Regions from separate parts of the Homo sapiens genome. Here region 2 is linked to region 1. Evidence: promoter capture Hi-C in human tissues and cell types (Jung and others, 2019). All regions are on one chromosome and are shown on one strand. The core of a region is centred on a gene start or on the middle of the fragment in contact, and the rest is flanking DNA. Distances in the headings are between cores, read along the strand shown. Region 1 holds the start of ANKS6 (ankyrin repeat and sterile alpha motif domain containing 6). Region 2 overlaps GABBR2 (gamma-aminobutyric acid type B receptor subunit 2).

Evidence for each region. The method cuts DNA at HindIII sites, captures the fragments that hold promoters and counts their contacts. A contact is called where the count stands out against the background at its distance.
Region 2: a fragment that was not itself captured here is called in contact with the fragment with the promoter of ANKS6 in region 1 in 2 of the 25 tissues and cell types used here (IMR-90 fibroblasts and aorta).

The regions. Positions count from the first base shown.
Region 1 is chr9:98,794,405-98,798,180 of GRCh38, forward strand. It overlaps ANKS6 (ankyrin repeat and sterile alpha motif domain containing 6), which reads right to left and starts at 2,151. Exons shown (of 15, transcript NM_173551.5): 1 at 1,729-2,151. The coding sequence starts at 2,087. RefSeq lists enhancers at 1,414-1,914, 1,915-2,415 and a silencer at 1,674-2,293. The HindIII fragment of the contact is 18,100 bases long and covers 1-3,776 here.
Region 2 is chr9:98,462,783-98,466,330 of GRCh38, forward strand. The region is part of intron 6 of GABBR2 (gamma-aminobutyric acid type B receptor subunit 2); the gene reads right to left. Among named protein-coding and RNA genes, the nearest start is that of TBC1D2, 210 kb to the left of the region's middle. The HindIII fragment of the contact is 5,351 bases long and covers 1-3,548 here.

The DNA of each region.
Region 1 (3,776 bases), core at 901-3,400:
CATTTGCCTACCCCGATGTGAGGGACAGACACACTGTACATCCTTCTGGAAGTCTTCCATATATACTACTCCTCAACTTGACCTTTTCTTATGAATTACGCAGCAGAAAGCTGGAGCACAACTCAACACAGGCAGAGATGCTACCTGAATATAGAGTCGGTGTCACACCAACTGAGGAACAGCACATTTTAAAATACCCAGGCTCAAGACTATCCTGCAGAACTTGGTTAAAACTGATGATCTGGGGTCTCTGAGACACTCTGAGGCATGTCAGTGCTGTAGTCACAAACCTCACTCAGTAAATTCCTCAGGGGGCTCACCAGGGCCCCTGTGCACGCACTTGGTGGATTGCAGAGATGAGACACACATAACACATCAGTGGCTCCCAAACCTACCATACAAGAGAATCACTGGGGAGCCTCTTCTCACACAGAGTCCCTGTCTCTTACTCCCCTCACTGCCCTGGGCCTTCTAAATCACAATCTCCAGAAAAGGAACTCAGGAATCTGCACTTAGACAAGCATCCTGGTGATTCTGATGTGTGGCCAGGTTTGGGTACTGAGGAAGCCAGTCAGCATTAACATGGTGTGATGGATGCTACCACAGAGGCCTTTCTGCTGCGGAGGGACCAGAGAACAGGGAGATATCATGGCAGGCTTCACAGAAGCCAGATCTCTAGATGCCATCCTTGCTGTCTCTCTTAACCCCTCCCCAAGGGCCAGTCGTCAACTCCTGCTGATCTACTCCCTGAATATATCACAAATTCATCTGGGTGCCCTCCCTCCGCTGTCTCCATTCTGGTCTAGGCCACCATCACCTCTCACTCAGACTGCAGCAAACTCTACCTAACCAGCCTTTTTGACTCTAGCTTACCCTAGAGTATCTAATCTATTCTCACACTTCAAGGAAAGTAATTTTTCCAAAACGTAACTCTCATCCTGTCACTCATTCTGCCTAGAACCTTCCATGACTCCCTAGCACCTTCCATGACTCCCTAGCACCCTAGGATAGCTAGCGTTTCTCAGCTCCCACACTCCCCCAACTCCCTGGCATCTGCCTTCTCTCCAGGGAGGACTAGTACATCATTCTACTCATACATTCTACGCATACCTCATTCTACCAGTCCTACCAGCTCGTGCACCCAAGCCTTTGCATGGGCCTCCCATCATGCCTTCCCACAGCCCACTTGTAATGTCCTGGCTAATTCTCAGGTATCCGCAGGTCTCCACGTGGATATAAACATCTTTTCTACCAGAAACCTTCCCCCACGTCTCCAAAATGGGTCACCTGCCCCACAGCTACTCAAACCTTTCCGGTCAAGCTCGTTCCTTTGCCTGGCCTGCCCACCAATGCCCTGGGTGGGGACTCTGCCTGGGTCTCGCAGCACCCTCAACGCCAAGCCAGGAAGGGAAGGCAGGTTCTGAGGAAACTCTTACTGCAATAAGAAATGAATTAAATCTCTAAGGTTCTAAGTCTCTACAATTCTATTCGCTGTCTCCAGATTCTATTCTGAAAGGCCAAAATTTCTAAGAATCTGATTTTATGTTAATTCAAAAGTGTTTCCACGTCTATGCTCAAAGTTTACAAAAGACTACTCAAAGTTTACCATTCCAACTCTAAGGAGTCCTTAACTCTTCACCTCCCGGGGCATCCGGCCGCCGGGGACCGCGTCTCGGGCCAGCGCCGGGCACCACTCTGGTCCCGGGCCCCCGGGCCCCGCCGCCTCACCTGGCCGCCTGCATGAGCGCGCTCCAGCCGTAGTGGTTGCGGCTGTTGACCGAGGCACCGCGGCGCAGCAGGAAGCGCACCAGCGGTTCGTGGCCCCCGGCCGCGGCGAACTGCAGTGCGGTGTTGCCCGCCTCGTCCGAGCAATCCACGGGCACCGGAGCCCCGACTGCCCCCGCCGCTGCGGCCCCGGGCCCGGCCACCTCGGCCCCCGCCGGCTCCGCGCCCGCCTCCGGCTCCGCGCCGCGCTCGGCTGGCTCCGCCGCCCCCGGCTCCAGCAGCCGCCGCGCCGTCTCCGTGTCGCCCTGGTCACACGCGCGCAGCAGCAGCTGGAAGGCCGGGGGCAGCCCGCCCTCGCCCATCGCCGCCGCCACGCGCGGCCCGCTCCCGTCCGCCCCGCCGGCCGCGTCGGCTCCGCCCCCGGATACCGCCCGCAGGCGCCCCCTTCCGGCCACCCGCCCGCGCCGCGCGCCTACTGTGTGCCGGGAGCGCGCCGGGGCTAGGGCCGCGCGCCTGCTGTGTGCCGGGAGCGCGCTAGGGCCGGGGCTGCGCACCTCCAGTGCCCGTATTCGGGAGTCCAGGGACGCTCAGAGGAGCGCCCGCCGCAGACCCGCGTGTTCCCTTTTGCCTCTTCGGCGCCCTCTCGCCGCCCTGTCCCGGGGCTCCAGAAACTTCCTGTCAGGGCAGAGGTGGGAGCGGCCACGCCATCCCCTCTTCACGCTGTGGTCAGGGCCCTGGGCCCGGGTCTGAGTCCGCAGCTGCGTGGGCCTTGACTTTACTAGCGGGCTCCGCTGACCCCACCGCAGCCCCTGGCACTGAACCTGCCCTTCTAGAATAAGGAAGCGGCTGAATTAAGGAACGAACGGATTGTTTCCTCACAGTGTCCTGCGGTGCCCTTAATGTCGCTCCTTCATCTGGGCCAGGCTGCTGGGGCTAAAAGCGCCTCCTGTTCTCTCTCTCTCCCCCACCTTTTATTTCAACTATTATTATAGATTAAAGGGTACAGGTTTGTTACATGGGTAAATTGTTACATGGGTAAATTGCGCGACGCTGAAGCTTGTGGTCCCAACGATCCCGTCACCCAGGCAGTAAGCATAATACCCACCAAGAGGTTCTTCAGCCCAGAGTCCCCTCCATCCCTCCCTGGCCTAGCGATCCCCAGCGTTTGTTGTTCCCATCTTTGTGTCCATGTGTACTCAATGTTTAGCTCCCACTTATAAGTGAGAACATGCAGTATTTGGTTTTCTGTTCTTTTTAGGTCGCTTAGGATAATGGCCTCCAGCTTTATCCATGTTGCTGCAAAGGGCATGATTTCGTTCATTCTTATGGCTGCATAGTATTCCGTAGTATTCCATCATATTCTATCGTGTATATGCACCACATTTCTTTCATTCCTTCCCTCTCTTCCCTCCCTCCCTCCCTATCCCCCTTCCTTCCTCCCTCCCTCCCTCCCTTTCTCCCTCTCTCTCTCTCTCTCTCTCTCTCTTTTGACAGGGTCTTGCTCTGTCATCCAGGCTGGAGTGCAATGGTGCAATCTCTACTCACCACAACCTCTGCCTCCCAGGCTCAAGCAATCCTCCCACCTCAGCCTACCGAGTAGCTAGGACTGCAGGCAAGTGCCACCACACCCGGCTAATTTTTTGTATTTTTGGTTGAGAAAGGGTTTTACCATGTTGTCCGGCTGGTCTCAAAGTCCTGAGCTCAAGTGATTCACCTGCTGTGGCCTCCCAAAGTGCCAGGATTACAGGTGTGAGCCATCACATCTGGCTCTGTACCACATGTTCTTTATCCAATCTACTGTTGATGGGCACTTAGGTTGATTCCATACCCTTGCTATTGTAAATGGCACTGCAATGAATATACAGGTGTCTTTTTGATAGAATGAATTATTTTCCTTTGGGTATATACCTGGTAGTAGGTTTGCTGGGTCAAATAGTTCTATTTTAAGTTCTTTGAGAAATCTCCAAACTGCTTTCCACGGTGGCTGAACTAGTTTGCATTCCCACCAACAGTGTATTTTCTCCACAGCCTTAGCAGCACCTATTGTTTTT
Region 2 (3,548 bases), core at 245-2,744, 330 kb before region 1:
TCAGAATTCCACCCCAAGTATGCACCCAATAGTAATGTGCACATATGTTCACCAAAATATATCAAATGCCCAGAATTAAATCAAACAAAATAAGTACAATAATCCTTTTTTCTTCTTTTTAATTGAGATGGAGTCTCACTTTGTTGCTCAGGCTGGAATGCAGTGATGTAATCTTGGCTCACTATAACCTCCGCCTCCTGGGTTCAAGCGATCCTCCTGCCTCAGCCTCCCAAGTAGCTGAGACTACAGGCATGTGCCATCATGCCCGGCTAATTTTTGTATTTTTAATAGAGATGGGGTTTCACTATGTTGGCCAGGCTGGTCTTGAACTCCTGACCTCAAGTGATTCACCTGCGTCAGCCTCCCCAAGTGCTGGGATTACAAGTGTGAGTCACTGCGCCCAGCCAATATGTGCAATAATTCTACACAGAAAACTATAAAACATTTCTGAGAGAAATTAAAGAAGACCTAACTAAATGCAGGGATATACACAATTCATGGATTGGAAGACTTTAATATTAAGATGTCAGTTTTCCCTAAATTGATCTACAGATTCAGTAAAATCCCAATAAAAACCAGAGAAAGTATGTATGTATGTGTGTATAAACTGGCAATCTGTTTTAAAAATGTATATAGAAATGCAAAGAGACAAGAATAGCCAAGACAGTTTTGACGAACTAAGATGGAGAACCTATATGAGTAGTTATCAAGACTTATTATAAAGCTACAAAAATTAAGATGTTTTGGTGAAAAACAATGGAAAAGAAAAAGATAAAGTTTAGAAACAGAGCTCTCCCTCTCCCTCGCCCTCTCGCTCTCCGTCTCGCTCTCGCTCTCGCTCTCCGTCTCGCTCTCGCTCTCCGTCTCCCTCTTTCTACAGTCTCCCTCTCTTGCAGAGCCTGGGCAGTACTGCCGTGATCTCGGCTCGCTGCAACCTCCCTGCCTCGGGCTCCGGTGATTCTCCTGCCTCGGCCTGCCTAGTGCCTGGGATTCCAGGCACTCGCCGCCACTCCTGACTGGTTTTTGTATTTTTGGTGGAGACGGGGTTTCGCTGTGTTGACCGGGCTGGTGTCCAGCTCCTGGCCTCGGGTGATCTGCCCGCCTCGGCCTCCCAAGGTGCTGGGATTGCAGATGGAGTCTCGCTCACTCAACGCTCAATGTTGCCCAAGCTGGAGTGCAGTGGCGTGATCTTGGCTCGCTACAACCTCCACCTCCCAGCCACCTGCCTTGGCCTCCCAAAGTGCTAAGATTACAGCCTCTGCCCGCCCGCCACCCCGTCTAGGAAGTGAGCAGCGTCTCTGCCTGGCAGCCCATCGTCTGGGATGTGAGGAGCCCCTCTGCCCGGCCGCCCCGTCTGGGAGGTGAGGAGCGCCTCTGCCCGGCCGCCATCCCGTCTAGGAATTGAGGAGCATCTCTACCTGGCCACCCATCATCTGGGATGTGAGGAGCGCCTCTGCCTGGCCGCCCCGTCTGGGAAGTGAGGAGCGCCTCTTCCCGGCCGCCCCGTCTGGGAGGAAGTGAGGAGTACCTCAGCCCAGCTGCCCCGAATGGGAAGTGAGGAGCGCCTCTGCCTGGCCGCCCCCTCTGGGAAGTGAGGAGCGCCTCTGCCCTGCTGCCCTGTCTGGGAGGAAGTGAGGAGCGCCTCTGGCCGGCTGCCCCAAATGGGAACTGAGGAGCGCCTCTGCCTGGCCGCCCCCATCTGGGAAGTGAGGAGTGCCTCTGCCCAGCCGCCCCGTCTGGGAGGTGGGGGGCGCCTCTGCCCGGCCGCCCTGTCTGGGAAGTGAGGAGTGCCTCTGCCAAGCCGCCCCGTCTGGGAAGTGTACCCAACAGCTCCGAAGAGACAGCGACCATCGAGAATGGGCCATGATGACGATGGCAGTTTTGTCGAAAAGAAAAGGGGGAAATGTGGGGAAAAGAAAGAGAGATCAGATTGTTACTGTGTCTGTGTAGAAAGAAGTAGACATAGGAGACTCCATTTTGTTCTGTACTAAGAAAAACTCTTCTGCCTTGGGATGCTGTTAATCTATAACCTTACCCCCAACCCCGTGCTCTCTGAAACATGTGCTGTGTCAACTCAGGGTTAAATGGATTAAGGGCGGTGCAAGATGTGCTTTGTTAAACAGATGCTTGAAGGCAGCATGCTCGTTAAGAGTCATCACCACTCCCTAATCTCAAGTACCCGGGGACACAAACAGGGCCGAAGGCCGCAGGGACCTCTGCCTAGGAAAACCAGAGACCTTTGTTCTTGTGTTTATCTGCTGACCTTCTCTCCACTATTACCCTATGACTCTGCCACATCCCCCTCTCTGAGAAACACCCAAGAATGATCAATAAATACTAAAAAAAAAAAAAAAAAAAAAAAAAAGAAAAATTAAAGCATAAAATGCTTATTAAATAAACAATCAATACGTGATGTGAAAAAAAAAGTTTAGAAACAGAACCAAATATATAAAGTCATTTGCTTTATGACAAAAGTAATATGGCGGCACAGTGTGGGAAAAGATGGACTTTTCAATAAATGATGTTGGGTCAATTAGATATCCATGTAAAAAAAGAAAAGAAGAAAAGGAATCTTGATCATTACCTCACATCCTATACAAAATGTATTTCAGGTTAATTATAGATCTAAATGTGAAAGGTAAAACAATAGAGTTTCTAAAACACAAGATAGGAAAATATCTTCATAGCCTTTGAGTGGGTTCTATTAAAGAATTTCTGTTCATTAAAACACACCAGTTAAAGGACTTCCAGGTAGCTGAAGATGAAGGAGGCTGTGTATAAATTAACTTTCCCAAGTCTCCGCAAACTATACTAGCTAGCTTTGTAGCTACAAACATTCTATACAAAATGATACCACATCTATAATGGAAGACAGAGAACATCAAAACTTTACAGATGACTGAATAAGAAGAGAAAAATTAACACATTTCACTTCTGCGTTTGCCTCACCCATGCCCTGATGCAAGGTTTTGTGGTAAAGGCAGAATGAGAAAACTGTGGCAAAGACAGAAGATGGTGTTTATTTAAGAGTGAACTAGAATAACTACCAGAAAGACGAATCTTCCCTGGTATGGTTTGCATTTGTGTTCCTGCCCAAATCCCATGTCAAATTGCAATCCCCAGTGTTGGAGGAGGAGCGGCCTGCTGGGAGGTGACTGGATCATGGGGCAGGTTTTCCCCTTGCTGTTCTCATGCTAGTGAGTGCGTTCTCACAAGATCGGGTTGTTTAAAAGGGTGTAGCACCTCCCCCTTTGCTCTCTTCCTCCTGCTTCCTTCTGCTCCAGACATGCCTGCTTCCGCTTTGCCTTCTGCCATGATTCTAAGTTTCCTGAGGCCTCCCCAGCCATGCTTCCTGTACAGCCTGTGGAACTGTGAGCCAATTAAACCTCTTTTCTTTATAAATTACCCAGTTTCAGGTGTCTCTTTATAACAGTGTGAGAAAGGACTAATACACTCCCTAAATCTGAAGATACTAAAAAAAGCTGTGGAGTTCAAAAGTTCAAAAGCAGGCATCTGAATGGCAAAGGAAGTCAGAAGAATGGTTACAT